4 separate regions of the Homo sapiens genome follow, and all the other regions are linked to region 4. Evidence: promoter capture Hi-C in human tissues and cell types (Jung and others, 2019). All regions are on one chromosome and are shown on one strand. The core of a region is centred on a gene start or on the middle of the fragment in contact, and the rest is flanking DNA. Distances in the headings are between cores, read along the strand shown.

What was found. Contacts are between HindIII fragments. The study calls those that stand out against the background at their distance.
Region 1: a fragment that was not itself captured here is called in contact with the fragment with the promoter of KLF15 in region 4 in 1 of the 25 tissues and cell types used here (aorta).
Region 2: a fragment that was not itself captured here is called in contact with the fragment with the promoter of KLF15 in region 4 in 1 of the 25 tissues and cell types used here (H1 embryonic stem cells).
Region 3: a fragment that was not itself captured here is called in contact with the fragment with the promoter of KLF15 in region 4 in 1 of the 25 tissues and cell types used here (IMR-90 fibroblasts).

What each region holds. Positions count from the first base shown.
Region 1 is chr3:126,200,696-126,206,876 of GRCh38, forward strand. All of the region lies in intron 1 of ALDH1L1-AS2 (ALDH1L1 antisense RNA 2), which reads left to right. Among named protein-coding and RNA genes, the nearest start is that of ALDH1L1, 23 kb to the left of the region's middle. The HindIII fragment of the contact is 3,422 bases long and covers 1,838-5,259 here.
Region 2 is chr3:126,177,767-126,183,363 of GRCh38, forward strand. It overlaps ALDH1L1 (aldehyde dehydrogenase 1 family member L1), which reads right to left and starts at 2,820. Exons shown (of 23, transcript NM_012190.4): 1 at 2,710-2,820. ALDH1L1-AS2 (ALDH1L1 antisense RNA 2) reads left to right here and starts at 2,299. Exons shown (of 2, transcript NR_046383.1): 1 at 2,299-2,778. RefSeq lists enhancers at 2,480-3,235, 3,236-3,989. The HindIII fragment of the contact is 3,712 bases long and covers 1,141-4,852 here.
Region 3 is chr3:126,224,362-126,230,412 of GRCh38, forward strand. The region is part of intron 1 of LOC124909426 (a long non-coding RNA gene); the gene reads left to right. Among named protein-coding and RNA genes, the nearest start is that of ALDH1L1, 47 kb to the left of the region's middle. The HindIII fragment of the contact is 6,398 bases long and covers 1-4,844 here.
Region 4 is chr3:126,354,769-126,360,201 of GRCh38, forward strand. KLF15 (KLF transcription factor 15) reads right to left here and starts at 2,640. Exons shown (of 3, transcript NM_014079.4): 1 at 2,469-2,640. RefSeq lists enhancers at 1,182-1,941, 1,942-2,701 and a silencer at 2,600-2,819. The HindIII fragment of the contact is 9,710 bases long and covers 1-5,433 here.

The DNA.
Region 1 (6,181 bases), core at 2,299-4,798, 150 kb before region 4:
ATACTCTTAAGGAAATTAGTGACATTTAGCATGAGTGACTCCATATTGGCTTGGTCTGCTGGATGCAGGAGAGGAGCCTGATTCAAATCAATGGCCCCTACAAATGTTACTGAAGAGTTCTAAGGAGGGTTCCTGAGGTGGCTGTGGCCATGAGGGCCCGCTTGAGGCTGAAGATGGGAAGCACACACATTCTTATATTCTCCATTCTCTGCAGTTGGTGTTTGCTTATTCCTGGGCTGGCCACCACCTTTTGTAATTGCTGTAGCTTTTTGCTTTATTTTTCAAATTATGTTATTAAAAATTAACTATGCACTCTTTGACCCAGCCATTCCACTTCTGTGTATTTTACCCAAGAGAAATGAAGATATACATCCACACAAAGACTTGTAGAATGTTCACAGCAGCCTATTCACCATAGTCAAGACCTGAACACAAGTCAAATGCCCACCAATTGGAGAATGAATAAAAAAATTAATACTTTTATACAGTAGAGTATTATTTATTAATAAAAAGGAAGGAATACATGCAGCAATATTATGTTAAGTGACAGAAGCCAGACTCAAAATAGTACATGCTGTGTGACTTTTCTACAGGATGTTTGAGATCAGATAAAACTAATGTATGGTAATAAAAGTCAGCACAGTCACTGGGTGAGGGTGGGGTTGACCGGAAAGCAACCCCAGGATATTTCTTGGTGCAATGAAATGTCCTCTAGCTTGTTCGAGATGGTGGCTGTGCAGGTTGTGAAACTGCCAAAACCCATTAAACACAACATGTAAGATCTGTAAACAGAAATTATTATAAGGTTAAAATTAACTACAAAAGGAATATGTGCTTGGTATAAAACACGAAACAATCCAAAAATGAATAGAGAAAAAGTTAACAACCCACTCACCCTCTTTGGACTTCCCTGAGGCAATTGCTATTACTGTTGTTTGTGTACAGAACTGAAGGCCTGTTACTATCCTGCAAAAACTCTTGTTACTATTCAAGCATCACGCCTGTAATCCTAACACTTTGGGAGGCCAAGGTGGGAGAATCACTTGAAGCCAGGGGTTCAAGACCAGCCTGGGCAAAACAGTCTCTACAGATTTTTTAAAAAATATATTAGCCAGGCATGGCAGCATGCAGCTGTAGTCCTAGCTGCTTAGGAGGCTGAAGCAAGAGTACGGCTTGAGCCCAGGAGTTTGAACCTGGGTGACAGAGTGAGATTCTGTCTCTAAAAACAAAAACAAAATGAAATTGATATTGAAACTTTCAGTTCAAATTTAGGCTTGTAACATTTTATGTAGCTTCTTTGGTCTCAATAAAAAAATAATTTGAAAACAAGAAAGATTCTAAGAAGATAATTAGATAAGTGAAATAATGACATTCAATAGGTTTGAAATATAAAGTTAGAAACACCTTCCAAAAATTAGATTAAAATGATGAATAAATGGAAAATAACATAAAAGATAAAAGGTTTAGAAAATCAACCCATAAAAGATGAAAGGTTTAGAAAATCCACCCATGAATCAACCCAACATTGAACAATAAGTGAAGTCGCATATATTCTAGTTGACTTCCAGTTACTGTATGAAACTTTTTTCATTTATTAGACATGTAGGGAATAGACTGACCACTGAACTGAGACACTCTCAGACAATCACAGCGTTCAATCACAGACAATTGCAGACATTCTCAGACAATCACAGTGTTGTGCCTTCTTAGCTACGGCCCCAGACTCCACCACAGCAGGTGGGAAGTTCAGCCAGTTCCATTTCAGACTTGAAGGGCCAGGACACCCAGATGGCAAAGACTGGCCTCATGCCCACTAAGGATGAGTTGCGAAGCAGACATTCATGAGAAAGGGAAAGGAGAGATGCTGACAACCACATCCACACAGCTCTTGGACAAGGAAACTAGGATGCAAATAACAACAGCATCTTGGAAAAAGGTGGTGCTGCACTTGAAAGGAAGACAGGAACCCACTTTTAAATATTTTATTCCCAATGAAACATGAGACAATGAAACAGGAGCACTTGTTAACTCAAAGAAGGACTGAAAATATGCCCCCTTCCTCAAAACTCTTTTTTAGAAGCCACTGGAGCACGCAATCCAGAAAAAAAAAAAAAAGAAAAAAAAAACAGAACAAACAAAGGAACAGCAAGATCTGGATGCAGGAGCCGTGGGGGCGGGTACTGGTACAGGACACGGGCTACAGTCAGTCTCAGGATGCCTGCAGGCTGGGCAGCCAGAGGTCCTGTGCAGCAAGGCAGAGGTGCTGGGGCACAGTGGGGTTGACAGAGTCTGCAAGATGAGGCACCTTATAAAGGATATGGCCATGTACTTGACAGGTCTAATGCAGCATTTTGAAAAAATAAATAAAGATCAGTGCACCAAAATGAAGCAAATTTTAAAATGAGGTCATCACTAACTCTAAGCGAAACAAAAAGTTGGACTAGGAAAAAACCCCACCATATACTACTATTGCGTTTGCAGTGTGGTACATAGTCTTAATAGACTACTAATGTATAATAGATTGTAAAATTTATCAATATTTTACTACATCCGTACTGGGAGATTGGAGGGTTGGGGAGAAAGGGAAAATGCAGAGAAGGGGGCTGGCACAAGGAATAAATCTTCATCTGTCCTGACAAACACTCCGCAGAGCATATCAGAAATTACTCATTGGGCAATAGCTGTGCAAGCGTATTATTTGGAAGCACTTATTAATGTGTTTGGTATTTCCACTCTTGTTGGATGTGTGCAGCAGGCCCACTTCAGGTGCAGAAGGGGAGGTCCATTGTCTCATCCTTGTACACCTAGCACCACCAGGGTGTCTGCAGAAGGCAGGGCTTAGTGAGCTAATGAACAGGCAAACACATACACGTCCTTGGATATCCCTCTGCCACATTCAGGGAGCAGGGGTCTGTGTGTAGGGAACCTGCTCCTAAGGCAGTTGGCTGTTGTCTACCCCACCCCCCCACACACACACCTAGGCTGGACTTACCCTCTCAGGCCCCAAAGGTCAGGCCAGGTAGGGCTGGGACAGCCTCCCTAGCAGGGCCTGATGGCTAAGGAAGCAGGGATGTAGGCTGAGAAAGAGAAGGAGGGAGACACGGGGGTTGCAGGCTCTGATTTCAGGTCCATGCTGGGGCCCTGATGGCTCATGCTAGAGATGGGTATCATGCTTGCAAAGTTCTACAGGAAACGGGAACATGGGCACCGTGTCCCTGGGCTGCCTGGGTCCTCCCTGCCAAGTCCAGTTCTGCTTAGACTCACACGCGGCCATCTCTCCATTTATAGGGTTACTCCAGTGAGTTCAATTACAGCACTGATTCCCTGTGCTGAGGGCTCAGGACAGGCAAAGAGCTGCCCTTGACTTCCGGGATTCTTAGGTTCCCCATGGCACTGATACTGTGGACTTGTGAAATTTCATTTCTGATAAGATTGCATAAATCCCAATGAGGTCACTGTATTAGTCTGTTCTCGCATTGTATAAAGAACTACCTGAGACTGGGTAACTTATAAGAAAAGAAGTTTTAATTGGCTCATGGTTCCACAGGAAGCATAGCTGGGAGGGCCTCAGGAAACTTTCAATCATGGTGGAAGGCAAAGGGAAAGCAGGCACATCTTACATGGCCAGAGAAGGAAGAAGAGGAGAGAGAGGCGGGAGGTGACACACACTTTTAAACAACCAGATATGAGAACTCACTATACCAAGAGCAACAGTGGGGATCTGGCCACACGATCCAATCACCCCGCACCAGGCCTTTCCTCCAACATTGGGGATTACAATTTGAGGTGAGATTTGGGCGGGGACACAAATCCAAACCATATCAGTCACCTTCTAATGAAATGCTTTTTAATGAGGTCGAGAGCTTTGCAATTGGTGCAGAGGGCATACACCTGGGAGAGTTTTTTCTATAAGGGTTTTTCGCTGAAGCTTCCTGAAAGTATTGGTGTCTTTATGTTGTAATGGGTGGGCCACTGAGTTCAACCAACATTTAAACAAGCACTTGCTATGTATTGGCCTGGATGAAAAAGGCAGGGTCCCTGTGCTCCAGAAGTTCAGAGTCAGGGAAGGGAGATGGATGTGTCCAATCCATTCATTCTCTTGATAAATGTGTACTGAGCACCTAGGATATGTTGGACACTGTCCCAGACACTGAGATATAGCAAAGAACAAAATTTCAAAAAAACACCACATAGGACTTACCTGACTGGGAACAGACAATAAGCATAATAAAGATGGGAATTATCAGCTATATGAAATGGAGAAAAATAAAGTAGGGGAGAGGAGAGGGAGAGTTGAGGGAGGTTGCATTTTAAACAGAGTGGTGAGGGAAGCTTCATGATAGAGTGATAACTGAGCGGAAACCTACTGAAGGAAAGTGAGTCAAGTACACCCAGGGGAAGGGCACACCAGGGGGAGGAGCATCTGGTGGGAAGGGCACACCTGGATGAAAAGTACAACTGGGGGAATGGTGTACCTGGGGAGTGAGTGTACCTCAGGAAAGGGTGCAACTGGGGAGAGGGAGCACCTGGGGGAAGGGTACACATGGCAAGTTGGTACACCTGGGAGAAGGTTCACCTGGGGAGTAGGTGCACTTGGGGAGACGGTACATCTGTGGAGAGGGCACAGCTGGGGGAAGAGTACACCTGGGGAGGGGGTGCACCTGGGGAGTGGGTGCCTCTAGGAAGAGGGTGCACCTGGGGGAAGGGTGCACCTAAGGAGTGGGTATACTTGGGGAAATGGTGCACTTGGGGGAAGGGTACACCTGGGGAGAGGGTGCACCTGGTGGAAGGGTATACCTGAGGAGTGGGTGCACCTGGGGAGAGGGTGTACCTAGGGAGTGGGTACACTTGGAGAAAGGGTGTTCCTGGGATGTGGGTGCACCTGGGGGAAGGGAGTACCTGTGGAAAAGGTGCACCTAGAAAAGGTACACCTAGGGAAAGGGTGTACCTAGGGGAAAGGTACACCTGGGGAGTGGGTATACCTGGGGAAAGGGTATACCTGGGAGAAAGGTACACCTGGGAGGTGGCTGCACCTAGGAGATGGACACACCTGCGGGAAGGGTTCATCTTGGGGAGGGATTGTCTCATCTCCCTATCCTTTCCCTCCCCTTGTCATTCAAACCTCTAAAATACAAGCTTTTCTCAACTTGGGGCTTGGGGACAAGGGTCACAGAGTCAGTAACCATTAGAAGCAGTATGTAATCATTTGTGTGTACTGCATACAGTGGCATTTTTCTCTAGTGAGACAATTTGTGACTTTAGAATGAGCTTTTTCCCAAAGATTGAGAATCCTGGGATGTTTATTCAATTTCACTCATGAATGCAATGGTTTATTAAAGAATACATTTCCAGAGGAAGTGATGGTCAGAGACGCTTGCTAAGCTTCTAACAGAAGCTTGCAGCCCTGAAGGCTGCCTGCCTCCTCCTGGAGGTCATACCCAGATCTATGCTGGACACCCAGGTCGTGCAAAGCTCAGAGGTCAGCAGGGCTGCCTCTGCCAGCTCCTTTCATGGAAGCTGAGGCACAAGCCTGACAACTTGTTCACTTGCAGCTGACTTCATGCTTTTTGCTTTAGCACATACTTGAGAGAATGTTTCAATTGGAGTCCAATCAGACCAGCCATCCTACTTTGCCATTTTATCACAACCTCAGCACATACACAGGAAAGTTTTAGCAGTTCAACAGAACATTTTTAGTCATTTGGCAGAAGTAGTATGCCAATTTGCAAATTTGCTGGAAATTTCCCAATATACAATCTCTGTTAACAAGCTCATTACAAAACTTCTCACAGCCTCCCTGGGGGATTGTACTAGGAACTAGATGTATCCAAGGCACTAATGTTGTTTCTAGATATTTTATTTTTATTGTGATTGTAAAAGAGATCTTTGTTCACTTTATTTTGTAAAGGGTTGTTGCAAGTATATATAAATGCAACTTATCACTGTGTTTATTTTATATCCAGCCACTTTATTCTCTTACTATTATCCCTAAATACTTGCTACGTCTTTGAGGAATGCCCATATTTTTCTGCCCTGTGGACATCACTTCTTGACCAATAAATTGGGAGTTCAGTGCTGGATTCTGAGCAGGGAAGTGATGTGTGCCTTCTAAGCAGAAGCTCTCTGGGTATCTGTTACTGCTTTTAAAACCATCCCACTGTAATCCCAGCACTTTGGGAGG
Region 2 (5,597 bases), core at 1,747-4,246, 180 kb before region 4:
TGGTGGCTCACACCTGTAATCCCAGCACTTTGGGAGGCCAAGGCGGGCTGATCACTTGAGGCCAGGAGTTCAAAAGCAGCCTGGCTAACATGGTAAAACCCTGTCTCTACTATTATAAAAATACAATAATTAGCTGGGCATGGTGGTGCACCTGTAATCCCAGCTACTCGAGAGGCTGAGGCCCAAGAATTGCTTGAACCTGGGAGGCAGAAACTGTAGTGAGCTGAGATTGTGCCACTGCACTCCAGCCTAGGCAACAGAGCAAGACTGTTTCAAAAAGAAAAAAGCTGTAACAAAAATATCCTATCAATGCATGATGTTAAAAATAGGGGAGGCCAGGCCTAGTGGTTCATGCCTGTAATCCCAGCACTTTGGGAGGCCAAGGCAGAGGATCACTTGAGCCCTTGAGTTCAAGGCCAGCTTGGGCAACAAAGTGAGACCCATCTCTACAAAAAAATTTTTAAATTAGCCAGGCGTGGTTGTGCATGCCTGTAGTCCCAGCTACTTGGGAGGCTGAGGCATGAGAATCACTTGAGCCCAGGAGTTCAAAGCTGCAGTAAGCTGTGTTTGTGCCACTGCACTCCAGCCTGGGCAACAAAGTGAGACCCTGTCTCAAAAAAAAAAAAAAAGAAAAAAAAAAAAAGAAAGGAAAAGAATAGAAAGAAAAATAGGAGAAAGCGCGCAGGAAGGGACAGACTGAGAATATGGGAACTCTGCACTCCGTCCTCAATTCTTCTGTAAACCTAAAACTGCTCTAAAAATGTCTACTAATTGAAATAAATAAATGAATCTAGCTCTATAGTTCACATCTTACTCTAAAATACAGTCCAATTGGGTTAAAAATAAATACTTGAAAATCAAATATAAGAAGAAAACATTAAATTATTAGAAAATATTGGTAAATATTGAGTTATACAAACCTGACACTGTCAAAACACCCAACAAGTAACAAACCACGATAATTGTGTAAGGCTTAAGTTTGTGTGTGTGTGTGTGTGTGTCTGTGTGTGCATGCGTGTGTTTATCTGCAGGGTAAAAGCCTAGAAGAATTTACACTGAAATGTTGAAAGTTACTGGGTAAAGGGTTTTGGGTTTCAGAGGTTTTTGACGACTGTAATTATTTTGTTTTCTTAACTGAATGTTCTTTTTTTATATTGTACATGATTACTTCTGAAAAAAAAAAATAAAAGAGTATGTCGTTCCCCCCCTGCAGGGAGGCAGAGTCCAGGTGGCCACCAAGGGGCTGTTGTCACAGTCCAGGGAAAGCCAGAATGGCAGGCACGGGAGCCTTGGGAGGGGCCTCAATCAGGCTTGCCCTTTGGCCCCAGAAAGAGCAGGGGCCTGCAGTGAAGCCCATAGAGCCCCTTGTGGGCCGTATGGGCCGCCTCCAGGCCTCCACCTCCTCCCCCAGTCATGGCCGCTCAGTGTCCTTTCACTTGGTGGTGTGGGGACACTGGGAGGCTTCCTGGGCCTCCCAACCCTCCTACCCAATTCCCAGCCCAGGCTTGGCTCTCCAGGACCCAGCTTCTAGTCCCTGTGAGGCTGGGCCACCCTGCAGGACTGCAGCTCTGGGCCCTCTGTTCTGGTGCTAGGGCCCTGGGGCCCATGAATGCAGTTCTAGCACTCGGGAGGCTGAGGCGGGAGAATCACTTGAACCCGGGAGGCGGAGGTTGCAGTGAGCCGAGATCGTGCCACTGCACTCCAGCCTGGGCGACAGAGCGAGACTCTGTCTCAAACAAACAAACAAACAAACAGCAGCCAACATTCTCCGAGGGTTTCCTAGGGCCAGGCGCGGGGCAGTCTCATGTAATTCTCAAGCAATCTTGGGAGGCAGGCACTACTGTTCATTGCCCCTCCCGATTTTAGAGACAAGAAACTAAGATTCAGAACACAAGAAACTTGCCCAAGGTCAAGGAGAAGTGGAGGCGTGGGGAGGAAACAAAGTCACCTGACACCAGAGCCCATGCCTCCAAACTCCAAGTCTGGGACTCCTGATTAAATTCCGTCTCTGTCTGCACTTTGGGAAGATTCTTTCCTCTCCTAGGCAAGTGCCCGCGGGGCCTGAGCTCTCGATAGCGGGGCCCCAGGAGCCACGTTGTGGGGTCTGCTATCCGGCCTCCCTCTGCACGCGCGACCGTCCACTTGAGCGCAGTGGCTGGAGCTGGGACTCCAGCGCAGCCCCTGAGCGCTCACGTCGACCCCTCCAATCACAAGAGGCCCTCGTGCCAGGCCCCCAGATTTGGCCAATCAGGGAAGACCTTTCCCTGTCACAGAATGGGGTCGAGGGGCCCAGGAAACAGGTAGTCCCCAGTCACAAATCATCGCGTCGCCTTCGCTGGTCCCTTTCTCTTATCGAGCCTCAGTTTTCTCTTCCATAAGCCGGGCCAGCAGTGCCCACCCCACAGGTTGGCGCCAGCTCCGTAAGGGCCCTACCACCGCGGCCGGCCAGATCCTCGGCGGGCCAGTCCTGGCGCTGCGGTCATTTAGCCTGATGACCCCTGGCCAGGTTCAGCCTCAATTGCTCCAAAGAACTCCGGACCCGTACCCCGAGCCCGGCGTCCCAGCGGCGAAGTTGATGGGCCCCGCAGGAGCCCTTGCGGTGAGAACCGAGTCCTGGAGCCCCTGGAGCCCCCGGAGCCCCCGGAGCTGCAGCCGGGGCAGCCTCCTTTCCGCCGGGAGTCCAGCGCTCTCGAGAGCCCAGAAACTCACCGCGCGCAGGAGTTGGTGCGGGCGTCCCGGGCAGGTTAGACTTCTGTGAGCCGCAGCCCCGAAACTGAGGTTGGTGCAGACCCGTCCTGGGAGCCAGGAGGTGGGACCTGTCCCCGCCAGTCCGCGAGCTCTGGTTAAGGCCAGAGCCCGTGAGGGGAGGGGCGCGGGGCGGGCGGAGAGTCAGCCGAGTGGGGGCGGCGCTCACCGGTGGTGGGACTATGGCGGGAGCGCAGCGCACCCTCTCCGGGCGGGTCTATAAATGCCATGTAAAAGCCAACCCCGCAGGGGCCTGCGCTCTTTCCCGCTTAGGTCAAGAAGACTTACTGTGGACCCTTGGAGAATTCCCAGGGCTTTGAAAAGTCCCAAGCACCCAGCAGGGCTGGCAGTTCTGAGCGCTGGCAAGGCTAAGTGGGTCAGAGGAGACCCTCGCCAAGCCGGTGACTCACTCACTCGCTCACCCTCTCTCACTCTTGATGGGCCAAGTACCTGCCATGTGCTACGGACACAGCAGAGCGAAAGGAGACGCTGCCCTCCGGGAATTTGCAGCCGCTTGCAGAGGCGGCCCCTTAGCAGCTGCGCATCCGGGTGGATAGCGGCGCTTCTGCCCGCCCAGTGCCTACCCGCCTCTCCGAGAGAAAAACAGCCCCTGGTTTTCTCTCTGCAATTCCCCTTCTCCACTCTCTCCCTTCTACTCAGTCCTGGTGCCGCAGACCCCTCCTCCTGGTTCCCAGAGATCCTGGCCAGCCCGGTCTCAGGCAAGGCCATGTAGAATGCCGGGAGTGATAATTGCGTATTGTTTCATGACTGCAAGCCTGTGTCCAGGTGGCTCCTTCTCCTGGAACACCCTTCCCACCACACCTGCGGCCGCACTGCTCCGTGCCCTGCTAAGCCTCACTTCTTTTGAGGCGACCCTCTCGCTAAGTCCCGACCACCTGGCCCTCTCTCTGCTCAGTGCCTGAACACATCAGGCTTGCTGCAGCCCCTGCCTTTACCTCTCTACTTGTAGTGTTCTTTCAGAGCCTGCTCCCATATGGTATCACATATCAGATATCTGATGCAGAGCCTTAGAGAGGCTGTTCCAGGTCACACAAACTAAGGAAGTCCCTCAGCCACTCCCTGCCACATCACCCTGTTCTATTTCCTTCACAGCACTTAACTGTATATCTGATATTTCCTTGTTTCTTTGTTTGTTCATTGTCTGTCTCTCCCACTAGACTGTAAGCTCTTTGAGGACAGGAAATTTGTGAGATGTATTCACTGTTGTATCCCCAATACACAGTGATGGCTTGTAGCAGTTGCTAAATAAATGTTTGTTGAATGGCTTAATGCATGTATTTTGCTCACATAAGCCAGTATGGGCACCCAGGATTGAGGTGGCCTGTGCCTGCTGATCCACTTAGCCTACTTTCAGGCACTGTCCCCTTGTTCTTTAGGCTCCAGCCTGCAGGTCTCCCTGCTGTCCCTCATATCTGTGGAACTTCTCGACTCATAAAGTTTCCATGTGCCGTTCATCTTTGTCCAGAGAACCCCCATCATTCTTCAGGAAGTTCCTACTAAAATGCCATGACTTCAGGGAAGCTTTCCCTAGCCTCAGCCTTACTAGGACAGATTCCTCCATTATGTGATCACAGAGAGGCCTGTAATTTTTCTTCATGAACCTCTCTCAACTTTATTTATTTATTTTTTTTTGAGGTAGAGTCTCACTCTGTCACCCAGGCTAGAGTCCAATGGTGCAATCTCAGCTCAATGGACCCTCCACCTCCTAGGTTCAAGCGATTCTCCTGCCTTAGCCTCCTGAGTAGCTGGGATTACAGGCATGCGCCACCACACCCAGCTAATTTTTGTATTTTTAGTAGACGTTTCACCGGGGTTTCACCATGTTGGCCAGGCTGGTCTCAAACTCCTGACGTCAGATGATCCACCTACCTCAGCCTCCCAAAGTGCTGAGATTACAGGCATGAGCCACTGCACCCTGCCTTCAACTGCAATTTTATCACTGCTTCTGGGATTGCTTGATTAACATGTCTCTGGACAATGATGGCGAAGACTAGCTTATTCTCCTGGGAAGTCCCCAGGGCTGAATGCATGCCCTGTGTGTGGAAGGTGTGCCATATAATCTGTAGGAAAACTGGCTGAGTGTTAGGGGCCTGCAATGGGAAAGTGGTGTGTTCTGAACTTGGGAGTTAAAATTGAGAAGGCAGATGGGCGACAGGAACCACTGAACAATGGCTTGGAGGTTAGACACCCCAAAAAGATGTATTAGGAAATCAGAGAGGAATCCATACTCTTAGAGGTATGGAGCAGGAGAGGAGGGAATTTTAAGCAGAAAGTGTTCCGAAATCATGTGGAAAGTAGAAAATGTACCAGATGAACTGGGGGATCTCATTAAGGAGATTGTTGAAGGTGCCTCCTCCTGGCTTCTTCTTGCTGCTTATACTAAAATGTGAGAGAAGGGACATAAGCCAAAGGAAGGATTGTTAAATAAAAAGGAACCATAACTTGGGCTGTGAAAATGTCCAGCTTCTCCAGATGTCATATGATGCTAAAACTAACAAATGGCTTCCAGGCAAAGAGCAAATGCAGGCCAGTGCAAGGAAGATGGCCTAAAGATGAAGCCAAGAGTGTGGTCATGAGATCTTTTGTAAAATCTTCAAAGAGAACAAAGGGACACCTCAGAATATTTTGTTAAATAGTAGGATTTCTAAGAAGCTTACAGTTGTCCTTGACAGCAGTCTCAGCAGAAGCCCAAGAGAGAGAAGGGCTTTTCTCAAAGAGATGTGTGGGTTTGACAGTTGTCTAAAGGCATGAACCTCAGTGAGATCTACAGGAGACATGCAACATTTTTAAAAGAATTATATGAGCAAAACAGTGTAGACTTGGACTGAAAG
Region 3 (6,051 bases), core at 396-2,895, 130 kb before region 4:
TTTATGGATGAATAAATAAACAAAATGTGGTATGTGCCTACAAGGGAATATGATTTAGCCTTAAAAAGGAAGAAAATTTTGTCTTGTGCAACAACATAAATGAACTTTAAGGATATTATGCTAAGCGAAACAAGCCAGTCAGAAAAAAGAGGAGTACAGGTCATCACTGATTTATGATGTTTTGACTTACAATTTTTCCACTTTACAATGGTGCGAAAGCAATATCCATTTAGTAAAAACCATATTTGAAATTTAGATTTGGATCTTTCCCAGGCTAAGGATATTCAGTACCATGGTCTCTTTCAACGCTGGGCAGTAGCTACGAGTCACAGCTTCCACACTTGTTTGCCAGTCAATTTTGCCCAACTGTGGGCTAATGTAAGTGTTCTGAGCACGTTTAAGATAGGCTAGTCCAAGCTATGATGTTCAATAGGTTAGGTGTATTAAATGTATTTTTGACTAACCACAGGTTTATCAACATAATTCCATTGTAAGTCGAGGAGTATTTGTACTGTATGATCCTGCTGTAAGAGCTATCTAAAGTAGCTGGATTCATAGCAACAGAAAGTAGAACGGTGGTGACCAAGGGAAGAAGGGAAGGAGAGAAGGGGAGCTGCTGTTTAATGGGCATAGACTTGCAACTTGAAAAAGCTCCAGAGAGATTTGTTTCACAATAATGTGAATAGATGTGACACCTCAGCACTATACACTTAAAAATGGTTAAAATGGTACATTTTGTGCTATGTATTTTTTACTACAATTATGTGTGTGTGTGTGTGTGTGTGTGTGTGTGTGTGTGTATGACATGTATCTCTATAAAGGGGAGGGCCCCATCATCACACACAGTCCCCCAGGCTTCCTTCCCATCCCCATCTCCAGTTCCACCGTAGCCAGCATTTCAAGTTTGGTCCACAAAATATCCCACAACTTTGTTTTAAATGCACAGATAAGCCTTATACATATGTGGAAAGTATTTAAGTGGTATTATATTGTATATCAGTATTTATCTATCATGTTTTGAAAAAGAAAAACTCTCTATGGACCTAATCAAACTTTTCAAAGTACATTAGGGAAAACAGAATTTAGCTAGATTGGGGTTAACTTATGTTAAGAACAGCAGGTTTCTCCAAGACTCTCCAAGATGGATTCTTATCACATTCTCAAATGCACAAAGGAAAAGAGTTTGGTGACTCTGGAACCAGAATGGGGGTTGTGGAGGCCGTTGTTTGCCCTGTGGTCTCAGTTCTTTATGGATCTAAGAAGAGTTGTTAATTTTCAGTTTGGTTTTGCTTTCTTCTTATTACAAGGATGGGAGTGAAGACCAATCTCCTTATATTTCACACCAAAAACCAGAAGTCCCAAAACATTTCAAAGTCTAAATACAGTTGATACTTTTCATAGAAAATATAAATGACCAAGAAGTAGTAGAAAAAGTAAATAAATCAATAAATATTCATGGCATGGAAAACCCCTTTAATTTAAAAAGTATCTGTCACAAGCCAACAACTTACGACAAGTTGAATGATTAAACACTAGAGACAAACATATGCATTATTCATGATCTAAGATCCCAGAAACCCTTTAAAATCCTTGGGATCAATTAAATCTCACAATCAGGTTTTTTTTTTCAGATTTCTCAAAGATAATGTCATACATATATTATACCTTGGAAAACAACCCCAATGAGGACCGGGAGGACAGTCCATAATCGAGCACATTACTGCCTAGGTCACCAAATGCTCTTGCCCCAAGTTGTATACTTGAAGAGTATAAATAGTCCTCATTGGTTCAGGCCAGATTTTATTACCCAAAGAGTTTGCCACAGACCTTAGATTTCAGAGTTTTTTGGCATTTAGGAATTGCAGGTGAAGTGCTGTAAACCTATAACTATCAATCAAAGTTGTTCATAAACTTCTAGACAATGCAATAGGACAAAAAAAAAAGCTTAAAAACATTGGAAAGAAAAGAGACAAAATTGTCATTATATTAATTGTCCATTTCTAGAAAATAAGAAAGTACAGAAAACTAGGTTTTAGAGTGTTTTTTAATTCAATATTTTCTATATACATACATATAACATACGTGTGTGACATGTGTGTATGTGCATGTATGTAAGAATGGGTAACACCCTTCTTTTCACCCAGATGGAGATTGAGGAGAGAGAGTAACTGTTCTTGGCAAATAATTTAATCCAGTCTTTTCTAGACTGTGCATTTCTAAGGCTCTAATTGTGTTGCTAAGGGAGAGGTGTTTATAGCAGGTTTGTGGCTGCTTTCTTACCCTGCTAAGCCTGAAAGGGAAGCAGAAAAAGAACAAAGAACTAAATACCACTTTGGATAATAGTGTGATTTACTGATTCCATGGGAGGAAGTGTGTTCTTCCTAATTAAGAGTCAGTTAGGAGACATTTTCTTCCTTGCTGTGGCAAGAACTAATGTTTGTCCTTAAGAAAGACATGTTTGTGCTTAAGTCAACAGACACTCTGTACCATACATAGATTAATTTCCAAATGGACTAAACATTTAAACATGAAACATCAATAAAATTATTTCAATAAGATATAGAATAGTAATCCTAAAACCTTGGAATCGAAAGTGTTTTCATTCTCAGACGTCCAAAAGAAACAATTTGACTCATTTAACCATGTAAAAATATATAATTTTTATGGTAAAAAAAAACACCAAAAATCTTAAAAGAGGAAGTCACTGGTAAAAGTATTCACAACTAAAATGATCACAGAGGGTGTAATCGTTGAATTGTGCTCCTCAAAAAATATCTGTTGCACTCCTAACCCCAGTACCTCAGAATGTGACCTTATTTGGAAATGGGATCTTTTCAAAAGTAAGTGCCTCATATGAGGCATTAGGGTGGGCCCTGATGCAATATGACTGGTGTATTTGAGTATTTGAAGTGGGAGAATACTTGATGCCAGAGATGGGAGGCCAGGAAGAAATAATAAATTTACAATGCACAGCAAACACCATCTTTTAGGGAGAATTCTGGGAATATGGTAACCTGAGCCCAGATCCATTTCCTTCATTCCCACATGTACCTTTTCTGCACCAATCAGCTGCTGAGACTCTGAGCATCTATCTGGGTGCTCATGCAGCCTGGGCTTCTATGAGCATCTCAAAAAGAAGACCTCTGTGGTGCCTTCTCCCCAGTAGCTCAGTGGCAGGTGCCTGGAAGTCAACACTGGGGAGCTGCTAGGAAAATCCTGGGAAGCCTTGGGGGAAGTTCCCATCAGCCCCATGAGCCTGCCTGGTTTCCCTGGTCAAGAAGATACTAAATGTGGGCTGAGTCCTCCTGACCCTGCAGCTAGGGAAACGCAAACAGGATGGAGGAACAAGGGTTTCAGCACATGACCTGCAGTCAGCCTGCTGCAGTGTCACCAGCACATGGAGGCAGAAATCTCTGCACCTTCTACAACCTGTAGAGCTGCTGCCATGCAGGGAACACCAACAGCTAGACTTGAGCCCTGATGAGCCAACACCTAGCCCACAGGATCATGCCAGCCAGAGGGTAAGATTATCCCACAACAAATATAACTCACACCTGGAGAAAGAGAGCTGCTAGAGGACAAGGGTGCAGCTGGAAGAAAATTGGAGGAGGTGAAGAGGGAAAGGACATTTACATGGATTCAAGAGCAGTACAAAAGAGTTTCTGGAGCTAAAAATAAACATAATTTTCTGCTCCAAAAATTCAGTGGATGAGTTACAAGAGAAAAGAGACACTGTTGAAACCTGAATTAGAGTTAGCATTCTGAATATTTACTGCTTATTGCAGTAATATCTCAAAAGATAGCAAATATATCAAATATCTCAAAAATATATCAAATATTTCCAAAAATATATCAAATAAGACAGAAATATATTAAATAAGATAGCAAATATATCAAATAAGACAGAAATCATCATAAACAAATATATAAAGGTTTGGAGCAGTGCATACCAAGGATGAGACAGTGGGAGTGTCCACCCTCAGCTCAGACAATAGTGTGTGCCTTGTCAGGAGATAATTTAGAAAACCAACTAAAAGACAGTTGGTTTTCTATGATCACAATGGACTGGCAATACTCAACAACATCAGTGATACAATAGTCCTCAAAAAAGTCTTCTTTTCATCTAAGATGTAAACCCTTGCTGCAGTTACTGGTTTTTTTAAAAAATTAACTTTACCTTTTAGAACAGTTTAAATTGTCAAAAAGATTTAAAAGATTGTATAGAGAGTTCCCAAATACTCCTTCATCCATTTCTCCCTAAAATTAGTATCTTTCATTAGTATAGTATATTTGTTACAATTAATGAATCAATACTGAGACTAATATCTAGAGCTTATTCTGATTTTCTTAGTTTTACCTAACATGTTTTTCTGTCCCAGGATTCCATCCAGGATACATTACATTTACTCGTCATGTCTCCTTAGGCTCTTCTTGGTGTGGCAGCTTCTCAGACCTTCCTTGTTTTTGAAGATTTCAACAGTGTTGAGGATTAAGAATTTTATAAGATGCCCCTTTTTTGAAACTTATGTGATGTATATCTGATATTTTTGTCATGATTAGATGTAGGTTATATGTAGACCACACAGGTAGAGAAGCAATGTTCATCACGTTATAATAATATTACATGCTATCAACATGATTTGTCACTGTTGATATTGACTTTTGTCAAAGATCAGTTGACTATATTTCTGTGAATCTATTTCTGGGCTCTCTACTCTGTTCCATTGATCTCTTTGTCTCTTCTTTTCCCAGTATCACACTGTCTTGATTACTGTAGCTTTATAGTAGTAAGCCTTGAAGTTGGATTGTGTCAGTCTTCCATCTTCTTTTTTTTTTTGGAGATGGAGTTTCACTCTTGTTGCCCAAGCTGGAGTGCAATGGTGCAATCTCGGCTCACTGCAACCTCTGCCTCCCAGGTTCAAGTGAGTCTCCTGCCTCAGCCTTTCCAGTAGCTGGGATTGCAGGTGTGCACCACCATGCCTGGCTAATTTTTTTGTATTTTTAGTAGAAACAGGGTTTTACCATGTTAGCCAGGCTTGTCTCGAATTCCTGAGCTCAGATGATCCACCCACCTCAGCCTCCCAAAGTGCTGGGATTACAGGTGTGAGCCTGGCCAGTCCTCCAACTTCATTCTTCTTCAGTATTGTGTTGGCTATTCCAGGTCTTTTGCCTTTCTGTATAAACTTTAGAATTAGTCTTTGATATCCACTAAATAGGTAGCTGGGATTTTGATTGTGCTGCACTGAATAAAATTAAGTTGGGAAAGACTGACATCTTAAACAATATTAAATCTTCTTATCTATCCGTGAACATGAGATATCTTTCAACTTATTTATATCTTTGATTTTTTAAAAATTTTATTTTAGGTTCAAGTGTAAATATGCAGGTTTATTATATAGGCAAATTGTGTGCCACAGGTGTTTGATGTGCGGATACTTTCATTACCCAGGTAATAAGCGTGGTACCTGATAGACAGTTTTTCTGATCCTTTCCCTCCTCCCACCCTCCACCTTCAAGTAGGCCCCAGTGTATGTTGTTCCCCTCCCAATATACACGTGTTCTAGTTGTTTAGCTCCTGCTTATGAGAATGTGTGGTATTTGGTTTTCTATTCCTGCATTAGTTTGCTAACAATAATGGCCTCCAGCTCCATCCATGTTCCTGCAAAGACATGATCTCATTCTTCTTTTGTATGGCTGCATAATATTTCATGGTGTATGTGTACCACATTTTCTTTATGCAGTCTACCATTGATAGGCATTTGGGTTGATTCCATGTTTTTGCTATTGTGAATAGTGCTGCAATGAACATACCTGTGCATGTGTCTTTATAACAGAATGATTTATATTTCTTTGGCTATATACCCAGTAATGGGATTGCTGGGTCAAATGGCAGTTCTATTTTAAGTTGTTTGAGGACTCACCGCACTGATTTCTGCAATGTCTGAACTAATTTATACTCCCACCAGCAGCATATAAGCATTCGTTTTCCCTGCAACCTTACCAGAATCTGTTATTTTCTGACTTTGTAATTATAGCCATTTTGACTAGTGT
Region 4 (5,433 bases), core at 1,390-3,889:
ACCCTGGGCCTCCCCCAACCCTTTCCCACCCTCCAAGCAGGGGCTCCATTTCTGAGTCTGCAAGTTGTCTGCCAGGTGACCTCAGGCAGGTGCACAGCCTTTCTGTGTCTGTCTCAGTCTGTGAGATGGGGGTGCTTCCAACAGTGCCTGGTTCCTCAGGTGTTGTGAGAATTCCGTGAGCTGACGCTCACTAAGCACCCCCCTCAGGATCTGGCACACCGGCAGCACTCAGCCAGTGCCAGCCATTGGTGTCAGCCTGCAGGCACGGCAAACGTTCGGCCTCTGCCCCTCTACTGTGATGTTAAGGAATCAGGGGCCTCCAGCCCTCCTGGGACCCAGAGCAGGCCTTAGAGCCCTCCCCTGAAACGTGATCACTAACTGGCCATCCCATGATATTAAGTAATTACTGTTAATATTTTTAATTGTGATGATCATATTGTGGTTAAAGGAGGCCTTACCTTTTAAACATATAAACAGATATTGACAGATAAAGTGATCTAAAAAGTACAGTAGGGGGGCTGGAAGGAAACACCCTCCAATGGCTTCCCAAGGACAGGTGGCCCTATCTCCTCGCAGCAGCCCAGCACCTGGGCCCTTGGGACTCTCTGCAGACCTCACCACCAACTGCCTCTCTTCTAGTCCAGGTGTGCTCACTTCACTTCAGCCTCAGCCCGGGGCCACTGCCCTGGCTCTTCCCCCAGCACTGCAGGTGGGAGCTGCTTAGTTAGATCTCGGCTCAGAAGTCACCCCTGTGGGGGCCTCCAGGCCCACTCTGTTACATCATCCTATATTATACTCTTCCCTGCAGTTTCTACTGTGGGAAACTATCTTGGTGATGTGTTTGTGAACTTTCCTCCCTGTCTACCTTCCCATCAGAATATCAGCTGTCCTGACTGTTCACTCCAAGGCCATATCCCAGAGTCTAAAACAGGACCGGGCAAAATTTGCTGAATGAGTGAATGGAAGGTGCGGGGGAGAGCGGGGGAGGTCGGAGAGTAGGAATGGGTGGCCCAGGTCAGCCAACAGGGTCTTAATGCTGGGCTGAACGTCCCAAGGGGGAAGCACCCAGGCACTGACAACCCAGAAAGGGCTCTGGGATGTCCCAGGGCACCGGCATTAAAGAGAGGACACTCTAGGGCTGGAGCTGGCTCGGCCCCTGAAACACAGCAGCACGTGGGGCGGCCAGAGGCGCAGGCTGCGTGCAGGGGGAGGGGACACGCTGTTCCGGGCACAGTCCCCGGCTGGCCGCCGGACTCCGCCCCCTCCCCTGGCCCGGCCAGGCCTGCTGTTTATCCTCCCGGGGACACAGCGGCTGCAGGAACAACATGTAATTGATAACAAGCCCAGCGCCGGCCAAGGGCTTGCCATTGGGTCAGCGTGCAAATCACGGGGGTGGCGGCGGGGGCTGTCCTTCAAAATAAGAGTCTCCGGTCCCTGAGCCGCCCGCAGGCCCCAAAGTCGCAGAGTCCGGGCGTCCTCACACCTGTAGGGCGGCAGGGTCTCCCCAGGGGCCACCTGGTCCGGGGGGACAGGGGGAAGGAGATTTGAGGCTCTCAAACAATTGTTGATTTTGTCACCTCCGAGGGCCGTGGGAGAAAACAGCCCCTCTGTGCCCTCCGTGAGAGGGGGGTTCCATGAGTAACACCAAGGCGGGGAGGGAAGAGTGAACCGGACCACCATATGGGATGGGGACGGCCTCTCTGCCCCGCCGCCGCCATCCCTCGGTCAGGCCATGGCTTTGGTAATGTTCGGTCTGAGCGGACGGGGACTCAGCGTGGAGTGAGACGCGTGAACGGTGCGGGTGTGCGTGAAGGGGTGTGAGTTCCTGTCGTGTGACTGCGTGTGCGGGGCGTGGTGCGCGGCAGCCGCTGTGGCTGTGCGGGAGGCTGTCCGCGAAGGACTCGCGCGTGGAGCCGCCGTGGGTGCCGGCGGGTGAGGGGAAACGTGCGTGGGAAATGAAGAGAGCCGGCTCAGACCCCTTCTAGAGTCCTGGACCGCTGCCCGCTGGGCACCATGCCCTCGTCCCACGCCCCCCCCTTGCCCCCGACACTGCTGCGGTGACCGACAGTAACCCCTCCGTCTCCAGCCCCTCCGCCCCCCAACCCCGGGCTGGCCAGCGCGTCCGCTCTCCCCCTCCTCTCACCAGGCCGCGCCGGTGCCCACCATATGGGAGGGCCGGCCCGCAAGGCGCGCCACGGAATCGCCCGGCCAGGCACCGAGGCGGCGGCGCGGGCCTCAGCAAAGTGCTGGTGGGCGACCGGGGCGGGGGGGGTCACCTCCCCCGGGCCAGTCCGACCCCTGCCCACCTCCGCGGGGGCCCATCCCGCTCCTCCGACATTCCTCCAGCACTCGCGCGGTGCCTCCGAGAGCTGCGCGGGAGCACGGCCACGCGCCCCGAGGCCGGCCAGCCCTCTGATCACCCGGGGCCGCGTCCACGCGGCCGGCCGGCCCCGCCGCGCCTCTCCCACCTGAACTTGGCGCACGCCGGACCGGCGGCCAGGCCCCGGCGGTCCTGCGGCCGGGCGGGCTGGGCTGGGGGCGGCGGCTAGACTCTCGGTCCGGCGGCGGCCGGGGGCCGAGCCGCGGGTCCTGCGCTGGCTCGATCGCCCGCCGGCCCGCGGGTCGCTGCGGCGGAGCACTAGCCCGCCCGCAGCTCGCTGGGCACTCACTCCCCGCCGCTCACGTGACGCAGCGGGCGCCGCGAAGGCTCGCAGGAGGCTCGGCCCCGGGCGCGCGCCCCATTGGCCCGCGCTGCGCGTCACACGTCCCGCCCCGCCCTGGCCCCGCCCTGGCCCCGCCCCGGCCCGCCCGCGCGGCTCCCGGACTTGAGCGGCGGATGCTCGGGGATCCCGGAGCTGCCAGACGCGCACGCCCCCCAACACGCTGCCTGGTCCCTGGCCCGCAGCCACCTCCTTGCTTCCCACCTCTCGCCGCTGTCTCGCGGCGTCCACGAGGGCCGGCTTCTAAAGCTCGGTTCCCAAGGTGAGAACGTGAGACTGGCCTGAAGACTTAAGAAAAGCTCTGAGATCGCCCCAAAGTGCAGTCTGCGTGATTGAGCGGGAAGCGCTGGGGAGCCTGTCTGGCCCGGTCTGGCCCACGTCCCCACCTTCATCCCCAGCGCGGTACAAGCAGCTCTGTCCCCCGCTGAGTGTCAGATAAATCACTTGCCTAGAAGGACGTATTTTTGGATAAATACGGTATTGGGCTTTCAGCAGGACAATCAGTTACCCTCCGGAAATTGCGCGCGCTCTGCGCTGCCACCCTGCCCTCCAGGACTAAGGAGGTTTGCTGACCGGCCCCCCCCCCCCCCACCTGAAACCAATGACACCTTGTCTCTGGGGCACCTTTCTGAAGACCAAACAATGCTTCGCAGTCTACAAAAGCGTTCGTAGACTGCTTTAGTCCGCAGCAATCCTGGCTCGCATTTGGGTTCCCGCTTAGAGACAGGAAGAGTAAGGCTCAGAGTGGCTTGCCCAAGAAAAACACGTGGGCTGACGGTGCTAGGCACCCTGCTGTGCCCTTTAATCCACACTCCAGCTGGATCCTCAGCCAAGCACTTTACAGATGAAGAAACCGACTCAGAGAGGGCACCAGCCCTCCCCAGCCCCACAGCTGGGAAGGAGCAGGTAGAGAGGTAGAGCCAGGTCATCTTGCAGACACCCCCAGGCCACCTGTGCAGAGCTGTCCTACTGAGCTTCCTTCCTCTCCCCTCCTGGCACTGGGAGGTGGGGAGCATTTTCTCCTGCTTCTTCTTGAAGACATTGCTAGAACAGGAATTTTTAACCATACCCTTTCCAGGCTCTCTGGAATGCTATAGGTCTAGGCTTGCTTGACCAGGGATCTGGGGACACTGTGCACCAGGTCAGTGCCAGGGATTCAGCTGCTGCTGCCACTAGGAGCCAAACCAATGCGTTGCCAGAGGGCTTTAAGGACATTTGTGTTGAGGATGGTGAGAGGCTTTCTAGTTCACAGAAGTTGGAATGACCACTCTGGCATTACAGCAGCCCTGGCTAGCCTGGGCAGAACAGTGGAATTTGTCCATTTTCATAAGAGAAGAGATAGAGGCCTGTATTCCTCATTTTGTCTCAGTGCAGGTCTGGATTGGGCATAGCCACAGCACTTCTCCATCTGCCCTGCCCGCCCTCGGTCTTCACTCCTCACATACTCTCAGTCTAGTGCCTCCCATCTCCTTGGTGAAAGCTGCAGCAAAAGGTCAGAAAAAGCTTGGAAGCAAAGACACATCGTTAGCACCTTCAGCACACAGGGAGGAGGCCCCACTGGCTAGAAACTGGAGAACAGCCAAGATGGTCCTGTTAAAACCTGAGTCAGATCAGGTCCCTTCTGGGTTCAGAAGCTTCCAGCAGCTCCCAACTCACTCAGAGTAAGTAAAGCCCAAGTTTTCACCACAATCTTTAATGCCCTACAGCTAGGTACAGCATTTACCCCAAACCATATCTAAGGAGAAAAGCTCCCTCAATATAGTGGGGAGAATCTATCATTGAGATTCCTTGGCAGAAAGGAGAGAACAAAGTCAGGTGGTGCTCTTCAAAACAGATGACCAAAAACAGTAAAGATTTATCTTCATAGCAGTGAAAATCTCTAAGTTTCTTTTCTTCCAAAGCAATTCCTTCCCTACTTCTACATAATCAAGTATAGAAAAGGGCCTTGGAAGGATATAAATTATATTGGTTAAATATTGTATGACCTTGCCTATAAAACCATTTGGGCCTGGTGCCTTTTTGGAGTGATCTTTCTCCATGCTTGAATTTCACACATTTTACCAGGATATGTCTGACTCTAGCCTCCTTCTGTTTTCATTGTTACTACTCTATGCTTGGTGTATCCTTTTAATCTGGAAACTCAAGTCTTTCTTCGTTCAGGGAAACGTTCTTCTATTGTCTCTTGTTTCCCCCTAAACAGCTGCATGGATTGCTCCATCGCATACTCAGGTCTCTGCTCAGATGCCACCTTATCCCAGACACCTTCCTCACCCATCCCGTCTAAAACAGCACATCTGCTGCCCTCAGTTTCCTGGCCTCTGTTTATTTTGCTTCATGATCCTGATCTTTATATTATTTATTGATTTGTTTCTTGCCTGTCTCTCCTATCAGGAGACAAGCTCCTTAAGAGCATGGACTTGTATTTTTTTATTCACTGCTGTATCCCCAGAACCTAGAACACTTCTGAAACATGTTGAGGAAATGAGATTTTCTTCTTGCCCCAGTAAAGCTGCCAATGGATATGGGATCTTTGGAGAAGCTCTTCAAGGTCTGGTGCTCTCTTCCACAGTACTGTAGCCACCAATCTTGTCCTCATCCCCTGTTCCACACACATACCTGAGACTTCCAGCCTCCCCACTAGCTCATGCCTGCCCGGGGGTCTGAGCCCAGCCTGCCCTCTTCCAGGAAGCATTTTGAGGGCCCCATTCAGTGG